Regions from separate parts of the Homo sapiens genome. Here regions 1, 2, 3, 4, 5 and 7 are each linked to region 6. Evidence: promoter capture Hi-C in 16 types of primary human blood cells and fetal thymus (Javierre and others, 2016). All regions are on one chromosome and are shown on one strand. The core of a region is centred on a gene start or on the middle of the fragment in contact, and the rest is flanking DNA. Distances in the headings are between cores, read along the strand shown.

Region 1 (2,700 bases), core at 31-2,530, 780 kb before region 6:
AAAAATTAAGTGTCATGCAATGCCACATATTTCTCATGTGCTTTACATACATTATATCATGTAACTCTTATCTAGCAGAGAAAAGATTGGAACTGTGGTCTGGTTTATTTCAAGGCTTAATCTCTTCTCACATAATCTCTTGTCACAGCAGCCATAGTCATCTATCTTCATGATCAAATGTTCTGCTACTTCAAGCATGGTCATATGAAAGATGGTGGAGAAAATTGGTAGAAGTTATAGTATTTCTTTTTCCGATGAAGAAATCCAAGGCTTACAGAGTAAAGGTTTTGCCTGGGTTCACAGAGCTTGTGAAAGGTGGAGAGAAAATGAGGGCTCTGGCTTTCTGGTTCTGAGTCAATGGTTTCCCCTTTGTTCCATTCTTCTAGACATTCATGCCCAAAGCTTGAAAGAACACAGAAGCTCAGTACTAATAAAATTCTTCTCAAAGTTATCTCAATCATCTCATGCATCTTATCGACTTCACATTTCCCTGACAATGAGAGGGTCAGTGCTCATTCCACTCTTTCATCTCTCAAACCAGGGAGATCTGGTTTTTGCATCTTAATATATAGATTAGCCCTTGAATCCTTTATCTCTGAAGATTAAATCTATTGAGATAATGTATTTGAATAGGAAGAGCACAAAGTTTGGCATGCAGTAAGAGCTTAATTCATGCTCGTTGAAGGTGCCTTTGTAAAACGTTAGTGAATCACGTTAAGCAAAGAACAGATGTGTTACTTTTCTTTACGTAAAAATAAGAGCACCAATGATTGAATGAAAAACGTAAAATCCTACTTCCTTCTATTTTAACTATAATTTTATTAAAATAAAAAAATTGAATTCCACAGGGAGAATATTGTTTATTTCTTGTAGCATAATAAACAGATATCATGATTAACCTTCAATAGCAAAGTTTTTTAAGCAACTAATTTTCAGTTAATAGATGCCAAAAGCAGGGACTATTCAGAGAGAGTCCAAAATCTAAATGAAGGTGAATAAAGATGAGAACCTAGAAAGAGAAGCAAAGAACTGAAATCGCTTTCTCCTTGGTTGCTTTGCCAACACAGAGGAAAATGGCCTTTAATTTTCATGGCCTGGCAGAACATGGGAGACTTGATACAAAGCTCACATATTCTACACTGTGGAATAATCTAGCAGAAGAGTGACGGAAAGGAGTCTAATAGGAGGCCCACCTGTGTGTAAAACTGGCCCCTAAAGAGCTGCTCTCTCAGGGTAAGGGTGAACTAGAAATAAGCCTACCTCTCTACTCTCAAACATTGATACTTAAGGGACAAAATTTCCTCCTGAGAATTAACAAATATGCATGGGATTCCAGCCTAGATTGTCTAGAAACCTTCAATCTGAGTAATGTAAGGAAGGCCTGTTTTAATAGTTCCTTTAGGCACCCCAAAAAACAAATACAAATTTTCTCTGGGGGAGCACAATTTCAACCCAGGCCTCAAAGAATTCCCATGGGTTAATTTGTAAGAAATATGAGCAGGCAGACAAAATAAAAAAAAAAATGCTTCAGATAACAGCAGCAAAGTGAGAACTAGAAGAAATGACAGACAACAGGATTAGCTGTTCAGTCTAGATATTAAAACTAGTGGACAAATGTTACAGCCATATATCCATTAGTGGACACATGAACAAAGTGTACATATTATGTTTAACTAAGGAAAAGGAACTTTCATATAAAAAATAAAAATGAGACATAAAAATGATCAAGTAGATTTGTGAAAAAAATTATATTATAGGTTTAATACAGTTTAGACACAAATAAAGATACTTAACTCATTAACTGATATGTAAATCCTTAAAATGCATCATTCAGCATTCAGGCTAGAGTGAAGAAATAGAAACTCTGAATGAAAGGTTGGGAGATGAAGGCTAAAACGTGACGGTCTAGTATACATCTAATCAAAGTTTCAGAAAAAGATGGGAAAGAATGAGAGGAAAAAATACTCAAAGAGATAATGACAGAGTACTGAGAAATAGTGAAAAACAACAAAATAGAGAATCAGGATATCCAACGTATCCAAAGCAGGTTAAATAAGAAAAAACTCACATCTATCCATATTATAGTAAAACTACAGAAAACCAAAAAACATAGAGAAGATTTTAAAAGCATCCAGAGAGAAAATAAATATTGCCTTCAAAAGCTTTTATTTTTCATTAATACCTGTTGTTTGCCAAAGGGAATAAGAAATAAGTTTATGAGTCTGAGAGAAAACAACTGTCAATCTGAAATTATATGTCTAATAAATTCTAATGAAGTTATCATTGTAAGAAAATAAAGGCTTTTTTAGCATTAAAAAGTCTTTTCTTACTATATGCTTTCATTTAAAAAAAATTCCAAATTTTGTTCTTCATACTGAAAAATGCAATCCTCAATGGAAGGTTTGACATATAAAATTTGCAATCTATGCATCTGGCAAAAGGCTAATATCCAGAATCTACAAGGAACTTAAACAAATTTACAAGAAAAAAAAACAAACAACCTCATGAAAAAGTAGGTAAAGGATATGAACAGACACTTCTCAAAAGAAGACATTTATGCGGTCAACAAACATGAAAAAAACCTCATCATCACTGGTCCTTAGAGATATGCAAATCAAAACCATAATGTGATACCATCTCACATCAGTGAGAATGGCGATCATTAAAAAGTCAGGAAAGAACAGATGCTGAAGAGGATGT
Region 2 (2,700 bases), core at 20-2,519, 970 kb before region 6:
GATTTGTACTTTTAAATAGGACATAATGCTCTGTAGTTTTTTTTTTTAATGTTACGTTGATAAATCGTTCATTATTACAATTTTTAAAGTCAGAGGTATTGTAACGGGATACATTAACTACCCAACTTATAAAGACTTAAGTGTTTTCTCCCGTTCGCTCTTTTGGCTTTTCCTTTCTGGTTAAGAAACTTTCATTCTTTTGAACCCTGCAATTTCTTGGCTTTACAGAGCCCCAAACCCCAAAGACACCAAGATAAGACGGGCAGGCCGGTATGGGGAGGTCCCACAATGACATCAGCATTTGGAACAATTCAAACCTTCACCATCTCTTCTCAACCTCCTATGTCCTCGCCCCCCGTAAAAGATGCGCAGGACCTCGATGGACGAGCCCACCCCTGACCCTCTCAAGGAAAGACAATGCCAGGCTGGTTTTCGAGTTTATTGTCGGCACGCTCCCCCGATGGCAGGCAGCATCCGAGGCGAGCGCGCCTGAGCCTGGGCGCTCGGAGGACGAGGCCAGGTGCATCGGGCGCATCGTCGTCTCCCAGGCGCGTCCCGCTCGCCGCGAGGGAAGGCCGGGGTTCTTCCAACCGAAGAAAACCAAAACCGTCAACGCTCAGCTCCGAGGCCCGCAGGAGGCTTTAAAAATGGCCTCCTGACGACACTTCCTGCTCGGCGCGGACGGTAGGAGCCCTCGGAGGAGGCATCCTTCATAACGCTGGGGGCGGGGAGCGCAGGCCGGGCCAGCGGCGCCACACGAACGGCCCCGCGGGACGCTGCCACCCCCGCCTCGGTCGCCCCGGCGCGTCGGCCGAGTCCGCGGGGTCGCGGCGCACAAAGGCGAGCTGGGGGCGCCGGGCCGGACCCCGACCCTAGGCCAGGCCCGCGTACCTGCTCAACGCGCGCCAAGCCGCGGCCCGGGCCCCCACCCCAGCCGGTGCCCCACGCCCACCAGCCGGAGCCCGCGTTCGGCCTACCCGGTGCCACTTGCCACGACGCCAGCCCTCAGCGCGGGCACGCGGGGCCGCGGCCGCTCGACCCGCCCCGGCCTGGCCCCGTCAGGCCCCCGCCCCGCGCGCCCCCACGACCCGGCCGCAGCTGGCGCTTCGGTCACGTACACGCGGATCCGGGGGCCCTCGCCCTCCCGCTCAGCTACTTACCCGGCAGGCCGGATTCGGGTGCCAGGTCCCGGCGAAGGGGCGTCTACACCGCCGGCCGCAGACCGCCGGCGCCGCGCCCGCTGTAGGTCCCTACCCGGGGGGCGGAGCCCGCGCCAGCCCCGCGCGTGCGCAATGTGAAGCGGCGGCGCGGCTCCAGCGAGGCCGGCGCCTGAGGTCTCTAAGGCTGCGCCCGCCCCCGCCGGGCTTCTAAGCTGTCCAGAGCGGGGAGCCTCAGACCCAGCCGAGCCCCACTTCTGGGCTTAGAGCTTGACCCAACACGTTCGCACCGTAGCGAGCGAGGTCCACATTTAGCCATGCCGCAGGCAAAAGAAGGATTCGGCTTCGGTCCTGGCCCAGTCTGCCATCCCGGGGCGCCTGCCTTGTACCGGGTCCCGCGGAGGGCGGCCTTGGCGCCTGCCTCCCTGGAGCCTGCAGTCCTGCAGTGGGTGAGTGAAAGCGAGAGAAGAGGAGCTCAGGTCCTCAGCCTCCAAACTCGTCTTCTTGGAGAGCTTCAGTGAAGGAGATGGCCTTGAAGTCCTGGGTACAAATCCTGACTCTCCCTACTCCTTTACATCTTAGCTGCTGGACCTTGGCGAGAAAGTCCCCTGACCTCTCTCAGTGTCTTCATTTCTGAAGACGGGGAAGGTCGTATGTGAGGCGCAAAGCCTCCTCTAGCAGTTGGGCGTTGCGAGGGTCAGAGGGGACAATGACTGTGGGAGTCTGGAGAGGGTGTGAGCTCATTTAATGCCAGAGTTTCTTTCCTGCCTCCTGGACTTCGGTGCTATTTTGGGCGAGCCAACTGCCCTCTAGATACACCTGCATCTACGGTCCGGAAGGAAGACATATTTAGAATAGAGCCTCTAAGAGGAAAGAAGAAGACCATATTGCCAGGTCCCGCACAATCAGTGACTCCCCACAAAGTGAAACAGCTCTCCAGCAGGGGCAGGTTGAGGCATGGGAGCAGCGTCACTGGGAAGTACAGTTTCTTCGGGATGAACAGCTAAAGTTTATTTCAAAGCTCTGGAGGCGGGGGCGGGGCAAGGCTGGTTTCCATCACCTTCCTGTTGGCGGCCAAAGGTCGGCGTGCACGGACAGCGGCCAGTATGCTGCACGGAGGAGATGTGGGCCTGGGCAGTACTGCCACACGGAGAAGCGGAGTTGAAGAAGACAGGCTCAGCCACAAGTCCAGCAGCTGGGCAAAACCTCCACCACTAAAGTATCAGGAGCTGGGCAGAGAAAATAGCAGCCCAGAGAGCAAATCCTTCTTCCTGCCCTAGGCTGCAGTGCTCCTAACCTCGGTCCTGATCAGGGAGCTGCTAGGGTCCTGGTTTTCTATCTCCTAGGGCTCAGAAAAGCTAAGGAACCTCTTCTCAGAAAAACACATTTATGTGCAGATAGCACCTATCAGAGAGAATATGCCAGAGAGTTCAAAGTCTCCCTCAAGAGTAGGGTCAAGTTGGGAAAGGCATTGAGAATCCAAACTAGGAGCCACTGCCTGAAAATCTCTAGTGGCAAACAGAGCCACATCAGGAAAAACTAT
Region 3 (2,721 bases), core at 111-2,610, 850 kb before region 6:
GCTGCCAAGAAATTCAGGATAAATTTCTGAATTTCATCTAAGTATTGTGGAGGACCACGATGTGATAAGCATTTCTACTTCTTGCTCTGGCTTTATCATTTTCCCATTTTGTTTTGTTTTGTTTTGTTTTTTCTTGTTTTTTTGAGACACAGTCTTGTTCTGTCACCCAGGCTGGAGTGCAGTGGTGCAATCTCAGCTCACTGCAACCTCCACCTCCTGGGTTCAAGCGATTCTCGTGCCTCAGCCTCCCGAGTGGCTGGGATTACAGGAGCACACCACCACACCCAGCTAATTTTTTGTATTTTTAGTAGAAATGGGTTTCACTATGTTGGCCAGGCTATTCTCGAACTCCTGACCTCAAATGATCCGCCTACCTTGGCCTCACAAAGTGCTGGGATTGCAGGTATGAGCCATGGCACCTGGCCTTTTATTTTCTTAAACATTAGTTATTTCACTCTGAATTCCCCTATCTTACCAAAATATGAAATAAAGAGTTGTTAATTGTATCAGCATGCCCAAATCTTTTCTAAGGTGTAATGTACAAATTAATGCAAATTTGGCTCAGTGGAAACACAGTTCTCTGGAATTTGCCTAGGACCAGTACATATGGGAAGTGTTAATGAGACAGAGCTAATCTCCTTGAAATAATGAGCTGGGAGGAACAGAATCCTGCCTACACCTGCCCCTGGTCCCAGCCCATCCTTGGGGTTGGATAGCAGCTCTAGGGCACTGATGACACCTTCCTGACCCAGCACAATTACATCCCCACTGAGATCCCTGGCAGAGAAACCAACACGTTTTCCAGCCCTTTAGAGCAGCAATTTGTACTCTCTCATGAATCGAGTTAAATTAATAAGGTCACCCATTAAAGACCAGCTGGCCCGGAAGGAGCAAATGAGCTCAGAATTATTGGGGATCTGCTCTGGCCCTCGTTATCGAGGAAAACAACTCCACTGTTTAATTCAGGGTTCAATATAATTTCATTTTAGAAAATTGGCCTCAAGGAGTGCGGTCATGATACTGACATCTTCTTGGGGAGCTGCGGGGTCTCCTTTCTCACCAGAGGCGAGCGTTCCAGCCTGAGACTCTCCCAGATTCCCCAAATACGCTTCATGCCCCTTCTGTGTCTGTGGGTACAGACCCTGCCTGGAGCCTCTTCTCCCTCTCACCTCCCCTTTGCTTCCCAAATGCTCATCATCCTTTCAGATCCCATTTCTCTGCTTTTCTCTCTGACTACTCCAGGCCACATCAATCTCACTGAATTGTTAACGCATATGTTTTCTGTCTCACTCACCATGACATTTAAATACGAATAGGCAGGATCTGATTACTTTTTTGTTGTGTGTTCTTTAGGGAAGGAATTGCCTTTTATCTCTCAGTCTCCTAGAGTACCTATCTGTGTCATCAGTGCAGAGTTTTGGAAAATGCAATTTTAAAGCCTGATCCTAACACCGTGCATCAGTTCATGTCACTCATGGCCCATGTCATACAGACTAGGTGCCCTGTGTGGCCCCCAGAGCTCAGCACAACCTGCCCCACCCTGCTCTCTGACCTCATCCCTTTTCAGCCTCTTCTCTCCTGGACCAAACTGTAGTCAGGCTACCTTGAACTCTCTTCTCTGTGAGGCCCTACCTTGTGGGATTCCATATTCATTTCTGCATTGTCCAATTTTTGCAAGACTCCTGCTCAGTCAGTTTAGCCAGAATCTCCCATTCTCCATGTCTGATCAGCCTCCATATCTCATCCAATCAGGGCCCTCCTCTGCCACCTTCCTCTGGTGATGTCTGATCACCCTGGTCTGCCTTCCGCAAGAACATTTCAGGTCAGTTTAGCCGGAAACCACCTCTGCCCCCGCCCTTTCCCTTACCCCTGAGGTTTCCTCTTTGTAATTTTCCTTTCCCAGACCCTCACGCCACTCCCTTTAAGGGAGGAGACCACCCCTCATATTGTCTTATGCCCAATATCTGCCTCCAAAGAAAGAAGTAAAAACTAAAAGGCAGAAATGAAATCCACAGGCAGACAGCCTGGCGTTGCACCCTGGGCCTGGTTAAAGATTGACCCCTGACCTAACCGCTTATGTTATCTATAGATTCCAGACATTGTATGGAAAAGCATTGTGAAAATCCCTGTCCTGTTCTGTTCCGTTCTGATTACTGGTGCATGCAACCCCCAGTCATGTACCCCCTGCTTGCTCAGTCAATCACGACCCTCTCACGCGGACCCCCTTAGAGTTGTAAGCCCTTGAAAGGGACAGGAATTGCTCACTTGGGGAGCTCGGTTGTTGGAGACGTGAGTCTTGCCAAAACTCCTGGCAGAATAGAGCCCTTCCTTCTTTAACTCGGTGTCTGAGGGGTTTTGTCTGCAGCTTGTCCTGCTACACCTTGGCTATAAATTTCCACTTGTCCGTATTGTATTCTGAGTTGAGCCCAGTCTCTCCCGTACTGCACTCATTGTGGTAATCCCGTACCTATCTCCATTGTCTGGAATAAAGCCTGTCTCAGCATTCTGCAATAAGAATCATGAAACTCTTCCTTTACCTCTTTCTCACCTCCGACTTCAGCTGCTTCAGCCAGCCTCTCCTTGAGTCTGCCAGCACACCCAGCTCACGCTACTTCAGGAGCTTGCACACACCATCCCTCTGTCTAGAGCCCTCTTTTCTTGGCTCTGCCCATGCCTGGATCTTTGTCCACCATCCAACTGTGTCTGAAATGTCATCTCCCC
Region 4 (2,700 bases), core at 132-2,631, 800 kb before region 6:
CCCAGATGCTCAGACCAAGAAAGAAAGAAATGAAATGACAGGGGAGGAAAGATCACAATTACAGGCAGCTGTAAGTTTTGCAGATCTTTGCATTATGTGAAAATAAGATGAGGACCCTTGGTGGATAGGCAGTTGATCAATCAGTTAATCTAGACATGTATATGCAATGGTCAGGAACTAGGGGTAAAGCAAATAATTTTAAACATTACAGAACAATTTCAGTAATCTTTGATTCGTGTCTAATATTAATTCATTCTAGCCTCATTACCAAGTAACCAAGATATAGAGGAGAGAAAGGGAAACGAACAAGTGAAAGGGAAAATATTTCAACTGTAGTGTCTGCCAATTAGAAAATGTTCTTTTTAGTCTCAAAGCAACTCTATGACATAGAAGTTACCTTTACTTTTTAGTGAAGCTCACACAGGCAAAAGGATTTTCTCAATTCTCCTTCAGAGGTCACACAGCTATTGGACAATTGGGTAAGGATTCAAATATGTCTTTTTTTGAGGTCTGTCTTTTTATTTAAACACCTACCCCTGTTTCTGAAATAGAAGGCTCAAGGTGCGCATTACCTGATTTACAGATTGAGTTGCAGTATAACATGGTGGCTGAAGGCATGAATAGCTCTTGTCTAGGGTGTTTACCTGCTATCTCTAATTGGATGACTGATAAGCATGTAAAATTTAAAATATCCAAAACGTAACTCTTAACATTCAAAACTCCATCTTCCCAGACTTCCTTGGTTCAGTGAATGGCAACTTCTTTTCCCCAGTTGTACAGTACGAGTGTCCAGGCATCGTCCTTGACCATCTCATGCCTCTGGACCAGTTCATAACCAATGCTGGAGATTTTCCCTCCAAACTATCTTGAGTCTTTCCACCTCTCTCCATCTGACCTCTGCCATGTCCACCATCATCTTTTTCTATCTCCAAGCCCACAAAATGTGAAGACAATGTCCTTAGCCCTTAGCAGGAATTCAACAGGAATACATCAGGAGAGGGGGAGGGACTTCTAATTCTGCCCAGGCAACATGCACAGTATCCCACGCATATCAGACTATACAACTTTCATTTAACATCTACAACCTTTGTGTGACTATTTGTGGAATATTCATTTCCTGTACTAAGTTGAAATGCCACAAGGGCAGGGTCATCTTTTTTTGTGCATCATTGTACCCCTAGGTCTAGCCTAGTGCCTGACATTCACTTCAGCTCATCTCTTGCTAAATGCCATTGGTGCACATTGCCCCCCTTTTTAAACACAACAGACTTTCTCTTTGTCTTCAAGAATGTTCTTACTATTGAAAAGATCATGCCACACACCCATGTTACCTTTGTCATTTTTATTCAGTTTTCACAGAAAAATTCTCAATTTTCATTTGCACAATTTTCAATGCTCTCACTACTTTTGCATTCGTCATGTATTAGGAACTAAATACTATTTAAAAATACCTCAAAATTGGCCCAAATAAGCAGATGAGGCTGCTAGCTAACTCATAACAGAAGCATTTTATCTTATTTTGAGACAGAGAAAAGATAAGCATTTTATCTTATTTTGACTGAGGCCTGTCAACCAGGCCAGAGTGCAGGGGCGTGATCTCAGCTCACTACAACTTCTGCCTCCTGGGTTCAAGCAATTCTCCTGTCTCAGCCTCCTGAGTATCTGGGATTACAGGCATGTGCTACCACACTAGGCTAATTTTTGTATTTTTAGTAGAGATGGGGTTTGGCCAGTTTGGTCAGGCTGGTCTCGAACTCCTGACCTTAGGTGATCTGCCTGCCTCGGCCTCCCAAAGTGCTGGGATTACGGCATCAGCCACCACACCTGGCCTGGAAAATTTTAAATTTGGAAATTCCTTTCCCTGCTAGAATCAAAGCTAAAAGTTTTTAAGTTTAGAGAATGTGCATTCTCTCAAGTCGACAGCGTTATTCTTTGTGCATGTGTTACCATCTTCATCAGCTTTGTTGCGACTGATGGGCTGCAGCTTTCCCAGAGCATCTGATGCAAGCACAGATTTATTGAACGCTTACTCTGTGCCAGATGATAGGTTAACGCTTCATCTACATTCTCCCATTTAATTCCCATTCCCTATATGGTGAATTTAATTGTGATCATGGTTTGCAGGTGAAGAAAACGAGAGACGCAATTTGACAGAGACCCATGCCTAATCCAGGAACATCTGAGCCTAGAACCAATGCTCGTAGGTGTCTATCTGCAAGGTCTCCAAAGAGCAAGAATTCTGTCATCCTTGTACTTCACTCATTTATAACTGCTCCATACCATTCCAAACAGTACAAATGTAATTTGGCTGTATATACAGAAGCAGACAGAATCTGTCACTCATAATGGTAATAGAATTGGCAATCATACTATTGCCATAATCAGTGCTAGATATTGTTATGCACTTTCACATACAATATTTCATTTGTTCCCTATATCAGCCCTTTGTGGTTGGTTGTACTGGAAAAGGCTAAACAATGTTGGGTGCTCAGTTGCATAATGGTAATAGCTATGCACTGAGTTCCCATTAATACTTAGGCCAACTAGTGAGGTCAGAATGAGAACTCCCATTTTACAGACAAGGAAAATGAGATTCAGCATAGTTAAGCCCCCTGTATAAGATCACACAGGTAGAGCTGGGTGCAGACTGATGGGCTCACCCTGAGCCATTCCCTTTGTCATCATGTTGAAGTCACTCCC
Region 5 (2,700 bases), core at 29-2,528, 810 kb before region 6:
TTGGAGTCAATCATTATATCTCATCTGTGTTCCCCAGGGACTGTTTAATAGCAGCATTTGGCATCGAAGGTGTTTAGGTTTTGCTACATATTGAGAATATTGTAAGAATTAAATGAGATAATGCATGCAAAATGCTTACAACCATGCTTGGAATAGAACAAGTCCTCAGTAAGTATTTAGGCTAGAAATTTTTACCAAAATGAATTCAACAACACATTTATTTTTTTCTTAGTGCTCAATGTGGGCCGAGAATTACTCTCAGTGCTCAAGATATATCAGTGAACAAAATAAAGAAGATGGCTAATTCCTATGGAACAAAGCAGAAAAGGATCTCTATCCATGGAACAGAGAAGGACAACAATAACAGTAAACAGAATGAATCAGGAATGGGTATAGCATGTTAGCAGGTGATAAGGTGCTCTGGAAGGACTGTAGAGCAGGTGGGGGAATCAGAGTGCTGGGTGGGGTGGGCAGGTGGGTATGAATAGTCCTTGGGGTGGTCAAGGTGAGCCTTGCTGGAAAGATGGGAACAGGGAAAAGGCACTGGGCACATCAGCTGTGGGATAACTGAAGGAAAAGTTCAAAGGCAGGAATGTGGCTAAGTAGTTGAATCAAGGTAATGAGGTCCACGTGGCTGAACTGGAATGCCTGCAGGGATGGATGGGGAAGATGGTCCAAGAGCCTTTTGGGAGAATCAAGGCAGATGTGACAATACCCTGTCTGTAGTCATTGAGAGGCACTAGACTTAGGCCATGGCTATGAAGCCATGTCAGGGTCTCAGACACAGGAACACAAAGATAACAATTATGACTCAATAGGATCTCTCTGTCTTCTGGCTAGAGAATAGGTATGTCATTGAGGGATAAAGTGGAAGCAGAGAGACCCTTTGGGAAGCTATTGCCACAACCCCAGCAGGAGATGGAACAGGGTGGGAGCAGGGGAGGTGTTACTCTCTTTGTAGTAGCTGAGACTTCACCCACAGAATTAATCTCTCCTGAATGTCTGCTCTTTTGGAAACCATTAAAAAAGCAAGCCCACTTTGTATGTTTTCCCTTGTTCCATCCTGAATAGTTCATCTGACTCTGTGGCTTTGTCTTTGACAACCTGCAGGATAGGTTCTGTCTCACCTGGAGAATGTGCTTAAGATTCCAGAGGAAGCAGGGAGCCAGGTGCTGACCAAGGACCCTGAATGCCCAGGCCACCCTCAGTGGCAACCACCATACCAACTGGAGATTGAGAGAGCAACATCGGACTCATAGTGTGCCTGCCCTCTCCACATTGAAATTTCTCCAGCTGTAATATAGGAATTTAGATTATTTGGGCTCTGAGAGTCTTCTGGCTCAAACTCCAGTAAATGTAGTGATTAAATTCTCCTCCCCTGGCAGATGTCTGGGTGAGATGTCTGCATGGAGCCTGCTGGTAGGAAATTTCTGTGGGATGTTAGACATCTTGTGTGTATGGTAACTAGCACGTTGATGAGTGGCTCAAATAATGGTAAACACTGTCATTACAGAGATGCCAGGTGACCTGGATATGTTAGATTTATCCACATAGAGCCCTGGTTCCCTTAAGTAAGGCTGAGTTTTCATCCTTGGTTCTACAGATATCTATGATGCCGTTGTTTCTCCAGGAACTCTCCTCCGCAGACTTAGGCTCTTCTAGAAGGTTGAATATCATCGACATTAAGAGTGTGGGATTTGGAATTGGCTAACTGGCCAGATCTGTTTTTCAGCCTGAGAATTCCCATTTCTTGCTAGTCAAAGTGTGGTTCCCAGACCAGCAGCATCTCCCAAGGGCTGGTTAGGCAGGCAGAATCCCAGACACCACCCCAGCCCCACTGAACCGAAATCTGCATTGTAATAAGAGGCCACGGAATCTGTGTGCACATTCAAGTTGGAGGAAGTTGATGTGATCCCTCTGGGATTTATTTCTCTTATCTGCAATACAGTTGATGACAGCATGTCACAGAATTGTTGTAAGGATCAAAAAATCAATACATAAAGAGCCTTGTTGTGATTGTTTCCTATGAGTACCCACTCTCCTAATCACAGAGGTCATCTGGTTGCTATCAGTTCTGGGTGCACTAATAACAGAGATTAGAAGAGCAAAGAAGGGGCTGGGTGCGGTGGCTCACACCTGTAATCCCAGCACTTTGGGAGGTCTAAGAAGGGAAGATCACTTTAGGTCAGGTGTTCGAGACCAGCCTGGCCAACATAGCAAAACGCCATCTCTACTAAAAATACAAAAATTAGTCACTCATGGTGGTGCATACTTGTAATTCCAGTCACTCAGGTGACTGAAGCAGGAGAATTGCTTGGACCCAGAAGGTGGAGGTCGGCAGTGACCCGAGTTTGTGTCACTTCACTCCAGCCTGAGCAACAGGGTGAGACTCTTAAAAAACAAGAAAGAGGCTGGGCGCGGTGGCTTATGCCTGTAATCCCAGCACTTTGGGAGGCCAAGACGGGCAGATCACCTGAGGCCAGGAGTTCGAAACCAGCCAGGCCAACATGGCAAAACCCTGTCTCTACTAAAAAATACACAAATTAGCCAGGCATGGTGGCACATGCCTATAATCCCAGATACTTGGGATTGGAAGGAGGAAGGAGAATCGCTTGAAGGAGGGAGGAGGGAGGAAAGAGAATAGCTTGAATCTGGGAGGCGGAGGTTGCAGTAAGCAGAGGTCGTGCCGCCGCACTCCAG
Region 6 (2,700 bases), core at 127-2,626:
CCCCAAAAGCATCTTGGCACAAGTTGTAGATAAAAATAGCTCATGATAACATTGTGGGAAAGGGAGGAGCGAGACTCGCGCAAGGCGAGGCAAGGGTACCACTGGATCTGCAAAGGAGGAGGAAGAGGGAGGATGCAACCCTTGGCCCAAGAGAGCGCCCTGAGTGTGCGAGGAATCGCTGGCTCCCAGGGGAGGGAAAGAGATGGAAGACCTATAGCGCCTATAACTGCAGAGTTATAGACCTATAACTGCAGAGCCCAGCACACCCCATCCCGCGCCGGCACCCGGCTTTGGCTCCAGCTTCTTCTTCCCATCATCCGCCTACGTTCTGGGTCTGTCCTCCGCTTCCTGGGACAGGCTGGGGCTAGAAGGAGGAGCAGCGCGCCGTCCGCCCCCTGGCTGGTAGAGCGCACCTGGAGAGGTCAAGCTCCGCGAATAAGACCCTTCCTGGGAGCTGGGGTCTAGGCGTTCCAACCGCGGGTTCGCACCCCGCCATCCCTCACCTCCATCCGCTGCCACTACCCAAGGGCCCGGAAATAGAAAACCACGAAGGGGGAAAAAAATCAGTAAAAAGTAACAAGAAAAAAATCAAGACCCTCATGTAATTGGCATTAGGGATGAGAGGTTTATTGTCAGGGCTGTCACCTCAATCTCTCTCTTTGGGAGATGCCTATCTCCAACCAAATGCAAAGGCAAACCCGACCAAGGCTTCTCCACCCCCAAAGGCTCCCTCAGCCGAGTTACTTTTGCGGGCTGTGTCCTCGCCCCAGTTTCTGGCCCCAGGTGGTACCCAGGATCCGTTGAGTGCTGCGCTCTCGCTGCCCTACAGGGTCCTATGGTGAAGCTGCGGTCGCGAAGCGGCCGGCAGGAGCGAACCTCACGACTCTGCAGGGGGGGAAAACATCCAACCCAGTAAGAGTCAGAAATCTGGGTCCCTGTCCTTACAGATCAACCGGTCCCTCGGGACTTCCAGAGCAGAGGTGCTAGGGCAGGAGGTGAGGAGGATGGGAAAATCCCCAGCCTTTGCTTCCTGGTTCCCTCTGCATCCACTCCACCTGCTCCAGCCTCGATTCTTCTTAGGTTCTGCACTTGCCCGAAGTCCAGAACGCCAGACAAAGGCACCTCGGAGCCCTCTACACCTGCGTCCTGCCACTCTCCCACCCCGCGCGCGCCGCACTCACCTGAGCCGCGCCTCTGTCCAGCCCGTCCGGCGCCCTAAATAGGCTCCTAGGCTGGGCCATGGGCAGCACTGCCGAGCACCCGCGGCGGGTAGAGCAAGTTTCTGGATGGCCCGGGGCAGGCGGGCGGGGAGAAGGCGCAGGCACCCACTGAGACCCGGCTGTCGTGGCGGCGACTCCTGGCTGCCAGGGCGCAGAGGACCTTGCAGGCGGGCGTTTTGGTGCTCAATCCCGAGGAGGGGGAGGAGCGGGAGGAGGAGCGGGAGCAAAAGGAGGGGACGGAGGAGGCCGGGCCCGGAGGGAGAGCGCGTTGGGCAGAGGAGGATCGCGAGCGCCCACTGCTGCCCGGCCCGCTCGGGTGCCGCCCAGAGTCCGGCCCGCTAGGTGCCTGGTGCTCCGCTCTGCGCTCAGCTGCTCCGCACAGCCCCGCCTGGCACGCAGCTCCAGCGGCTGGTCGGGTAGTAGTCGGTCCCGCCCACCCGGTGCGGTGGCCCCTGGGGTTTCAGTCCAAGGGGAGGGACCAGCGCTCCAAGAAGGTGAGGCTGCTGGGATGGGTGACTCCGCCGTCACTGCAAACACGGGACGTCCCGTCTACTCCCTTACGCCTGCTTGGTCTGAGCCCGAGTCTACCTCTTCTCTAAGTCGCCAGCTCGGCACTTGTACCCGGGACCTGTGCTCCTCCCACGTGAGTCTGCACCATGCGTATTCCCTTCCTGGCAGGTGACCCACCTTAGGCGCTGGCGCTCCTTCCGCCCCCCGGGAAGCAGGAGGTGCCATCCTCTCCAATTCGCTCTGCAGCCGGACTGGGACCGGAGCGGCGGCCTGGGCCAGAATCCGCGTGAGGAGCCGGCTTCAAAGAGCGCCCTGTCGCCATTGAACACTCCTTTTCCTTTGGTTTAGCGTCGGAGAGCGGACGCCAATTTGCCAGGAGAGCGCGGAAAATTCAGCTTTTTTTTTTTTTTTTTTTTTTTTTTTTTTCCGCTAGTGCACTAGGATTGCAAACGTCAGCTCTGAAATAAAAAGCAGGATATTTCTGCCCCGCTCCTCTATTCCGGAAGCTGGGAGGTTCTGTGGGAGAAAGGACCTGCACCCAATAACTCAATTTAAGATTTAAGGTTTTGAGGGGCGTGGGGTTGGAATCGCCTTGGAGAAACGGGTTTGCCTGCTTACCTGAGCCAAAGGAAGTTGCCCTCAAAGGCAGGTCAGCAATCATACCCCGCCAAAAGCAAATGCACATCAAAGTAACTTCCTTTAAATGAGATTACTGTAGTTTCCATGTCTTCCACATTAGTAAATAAATATTTGGAAGACTTCGAATTTGTGATTTACGTTTAAATATATTTCACCAACATTGTTTAATTAAAAAAAAATCCCATCTAAGAGAAGGTTCCTATAGGAAATTGGCCCTTTAACTCATACACAGATTACCCTCGGCACTTTCAGAAAACAACACAGTGACCAGTATATTCTGTCTTTTTGATACAGCCAGAAGCACCCTGAAAGCTGAGACCTAACTGTGCTT
Region 7 (2,700 bases), core at 171-2,670, 840 kb before region 6:
TTTAAAGGCTACTAAAGTAAACTCCGCCCCCTCTTCCACTTCTCTCTCCTGCTGCCCAGCAGAACTGGCTTTGATGAAGTAGACAGGGCATGCTTGCCTTCTACTTATCCATGGGAACAGAGTTTGGATGGTGTGTTATTCCAGTCCCATAGAGAGGGATTTGGTTCTGTCTCCAGGGTCAAGCTCCTGGCATGGAGATGAATCTTTCTTTGCCCCCTTGAGTGTGGTATGCAGTCCTTTGGTTCTCCCCAGGCACCGACTGTTAGTCCAGAATTCAGCAGCGAAACCCCTGGGAAAAGATCAGGGTGATTTCACACTGCCAGCCTTCTCTCTCTCTCAAACCTCTGAAATTAACTGGCCCAGCTCCACATCTCATTTTAAGTTCACCCCCTGACATTAGAAGGCTACTCTAGAATAAGATTCTCTGATTTTTGAAAGACAATTTGTACTTCTAAGAGTTACTCATTTTAAATATAATCTAGATAAAAACAAGGAAGGATGGAAAGTTTCTGCATTCATCACCTTCTTTCCTCTAGTTGAACGTCTGCACTGCATCTGGAACTGAGCACTGTACAAAAATGATTTCACTCAAACCTCATAGCAATTCTTGGTGGAAAGCATCTTTATCTCAATTTTAGGGCCATTGTAAAATATCACTAGTGCCAAAAGGGACATTAAACACCATAAACGAACCCTTTAATTTTGCAGATGGATTAGCTGAGGTTAGCCCTCTTGGGAGTGCCACCGAGTCTGTCTGATGACACATCTCTCCACCACTCAAAGGTGGAGCGTTTGCACCATGGAGCTGTGGGGACTATGGTTTGGAAATGCACAGTGTGCTCAGACAGTAGGGAATCTGGAGGGATGAATGAGCAAAGCCTGTGTCATCCTAGAGGTCGTGTGGAGGTTTGCAAGAGTAAAGGATGCTTAGAACTGTGTCTCACAGAGGTAACGTAGGAACACACAGCATTGATTTGAGAGAGGAGTGGACTCTGTAATATTCTAGGGAATAGGTATGATGGCCTGGACAGACCGTTTATCTTGTTTCCCATGTGGCCACCAATGCCCTCTTCTCCTTATTTGGGCATATTCTTGGTACCTATGTAATGGAACTCACACTGACATAACTAGAACAGAATGCAACTGGAATTCTCAGACTGCCTACCCTGAACCTCTAGCTCCTAAATGGGAGGTCTGGTGCCTAACACAGTGCCTGGAGCATGTGCACACCAATGTGGTGCTGAATGGGTAAGAGTGAGTGAATGTGTGAGTGAATGAATGCCACAGGCACATGCAGAGGGAAATATACAAAAGAGGGCATCCCAAAGTGAGACGGGCCAGAGATACACTGCAGATCATGTCTGGGTCTATACCTGGACCTGTCCTATCCGAGCAAGGCCAATGGAGTGCCTGGCACGTAGTAGGAAACTACTCCACGTGTGTGCACAAGTGCCACTTAAATTCCCCTGGAATCGGTTGTACATTTTCAAGATTAGAGATTGGAGAGCCTCTCTCAATCCAGATGAAATTCACTCTGAGGTGGAATCAGGCCAAGGCTCATTTTAAATAAGTGAATCCATGGGTTCATTCTTTCTAGAAGGCATTCCCTATTGGTTTCAAGAATTCTCCTCTTACCTATTTTATTTGTATAAGAAATATTTGGGGCATGTAATTCCCTGAAGGGGACCTGGGAAAAACACTGGAAGTGTTTAGTGCCACTCACAACTCTCATCAAGCTCATACACCCAAGACCCTCTTGGCCGAGTGAGGCTCCCACCTCCTCAGACCCTGCCCTGCCGGGGCCTGTCTGGTCTCCTCCCTCCTCTGAGAACCTGTGGCACTTCTTACTCGAATCATGCATTTAGTAAATCTGGACGATGACATATAATTATTCATTTATTATTTAAATCTCATATTGTAAAACCTTACTTGAGTTTTTTTCCTTTCCTCAATTAGACTTTAAGTTCTTTGAGGGCAGAAAACATGTCTATATAAGCTATAGTCCTGTTCCTATAAGCTATCAATCAGTGCTCCCAATACATATTAAAAAACAAAAACAAAAATATTTGACACTCTGATGGGTTCTGCAGCAGACAAGTAGAGTAGCAGGATGATTTGCCAGACATGTTTTAGCTCAGACATTCCTCTAGCGGGCAGAGCCACTCCTGAAATCCCTTCATCCACTCTCTGAGCCTCCCCCACTTCCCCACTTGGTCTCTGTCTTCTTCCTCCTTTCTCCATCCTTCTCTCCCTATTGAAGTTTCTTTTTCACGTCTATTTAAGTATCTAGTAAGTGCCAGGCATCATAGGAGGCTCTCGGTATACTACAGATCAACAGCATCCTAGGGTTATCCACAACATAAGAACCTAGGGTTCTGCCTTGATTCTTCCTTCTTCCTACTCCCCCATCAGCCAATGTTTCTTGAGCATCTACTTGTTGTTTGTTTGTTTGTTTGTTTGTTTATTTATTTATTTATTAGTTTCTTTTGAGGCAGAGTCTCACTCTGTCGCCCAGGTTGGAGTGCAGTGAGGTGATGTCAGCTCACTGCAACCTCCACCTCCCGAGTTCAAGAGATTTTCCTGCCTCAGCCTCCCTTGTAGCTTGGATTACAGGCACCCACTACCATGCCTGGCTAATTTTTGTATTTTTTAGTAGAGATCAGGTTTTGCCATGTTGGCCAGGCTGGTCTGGAACTCCTG

The links. The method cuts DNA at HindIII sites, captures the fragments that hold promoters and counts their contacts. A CHiCAGO score of 5 or more calls a contact.
Region 1: a contact is called between a fragment that was not itself captured here and the fragment with the promoter of HS3ST1 in region 6, in 3 of 17 cell types (naive B cells, total B cells and monocytes). The highest score is 6.7, in naive B cells.
Region 2: the fragment with the promoter of ZNF518B here is called in contact with the fragment with the promoter of HS3ST1 in region 6 in 12 of 17 cell types (fetal thymus, M1 macrophages, total B cells and 9 more); the score reaches 13.9 in fetal thymus.
Region 3: a fragment that was not itself captured here is called in contact with the fragment with the promoter of HS3ST1 in region 6 in 16 of 17 cell types (total B cells, naive B cells, M1 macrophages and 13 more); the score reaches 19.9 in total B cells.
Region 4: a fragment that was not itself captured here is called in contact with the fragment with the promoter of HS3ST1 in region 6 in 8 of 17 cell types (total B cells, naive B cells, M0 macrophages and 5 more); the score reaches 13.8 in total B cells.
Region 5: a contact is called between a fragment that was not itself captured here and the fragment with the promoter of HS3ST1 in region 6, in 7 of 17 cell types (total B cells, naive B cells, megakaryocytes and 4 more). The highest score is 18.3, in total B cells.
Region 7: a fragment that was not itself captured here is called in contact with the fragment with the promoter of HS3ST1 in region 6 in 15 of 17 cell types (total B cells, naive B cells, M2 macrophages and 12 more); the score reaches 22.6 in total B cells.

Annotation. Positions count from the first base shown.
Region 1 is chr4:10,648,370-10,651,069 of GRCh38, forward strand. The region is part of intron 2 of CLNK (cytokine dependent hematopoietic cell linker); the gene reads right to left. Among named protein-coding and RNA genes, the nearest start is that of CLNK, 35 kb to the right of the region's middle. The HindIII fragment of the contact is 1,760 bases long and covers 401-2,160 here.
Region 2 is chr4:10,456,157-10,458,856 of GRCh38, forward strand. ZNF518B (zinc finger protein 518B) reads right to left here and starts at 1,270. Exons shown (of 3, transcript NM_053042.3): 1 at 1,161-1,270. RefSeq lists enhancers at 336-395, 378-1,193, 456-615 and a silencer at 746-1,385. The HindIII fragment of the contact is 4,989 bases long and covers 1-2,700 here.
Region 3 is chr4:10,572,704-10,575,424 of GRCh38, forward strand. The region is part of intron 4 of CLNK (cytokine dependent hematopoietic cell linker); the gene reads right to left. The region is part of intron 3 of LOC105374481 (a long non-coding RNA gene); the gene reads left to right. Among named protein-coding and RNA genes, the nearest start is that of CLNK, 110 kb to the right of the region's middle. The HindIII fragment of the contact is 6,904 bases long and covers 1-2,721 here.
Region 4 is chr4:10,631,407-10,634,106 of GRCh38, forward strand. All of the region lies in intron 2 of CLNK (cytokine dependent hematopoietic cell linker), which reads right to left. Among named protein-coding and RNA genes, the nearest start is that of CLNK, 52 kb to the right of the region's middle. The HindIII fragment of the contact is 3,385 bases long and covers 1-2,700 here.
Region 5 is chr4:10,612,789-10,615,488 of GRCh38, forward strand. The region is part of intron 2 of CLNK (cytokine dependent hematopoietic cell linker); the gene reads right to left. Among named protein-coding and RNA genes, the nearest start is that of CLNK, 71 kb to the right of the region's middle. The HindIII fragment of the contact is 7,189 bases long and covers 1-2,700 here.
Region 6 is chr4:11,427,518-11,430,217 of GRCh38, forward strand. It overlaps HS3ST1 (heparan sulfate-glucosamine 3-sulfotransferase 1), which reads right to left and starts at 1,377. Exons shown (of 2, transcript NM_005114.4): 1 at 1,182-1,377. RefSeq lists an enhancer at 1,033-1,252 and a silencer at 1,343-1,522. The HindIII fragment of the contact is 3,893 bases long and covers 1-2,700 here.
Region 7 is chr4:10,590,256-10,592,955 of GRCh38, forward strand. All of the region lies in intron 3 of CLNK (cytokine dependent hematopoietic cell linker), which reads right to left. Among named protein-coding and RNA genes, the nearest start is that of CLNK, 93 kb to the right of the region's middle. The HindIII fragment of the contact is 5,413 bases long and covers 1-2,700 here.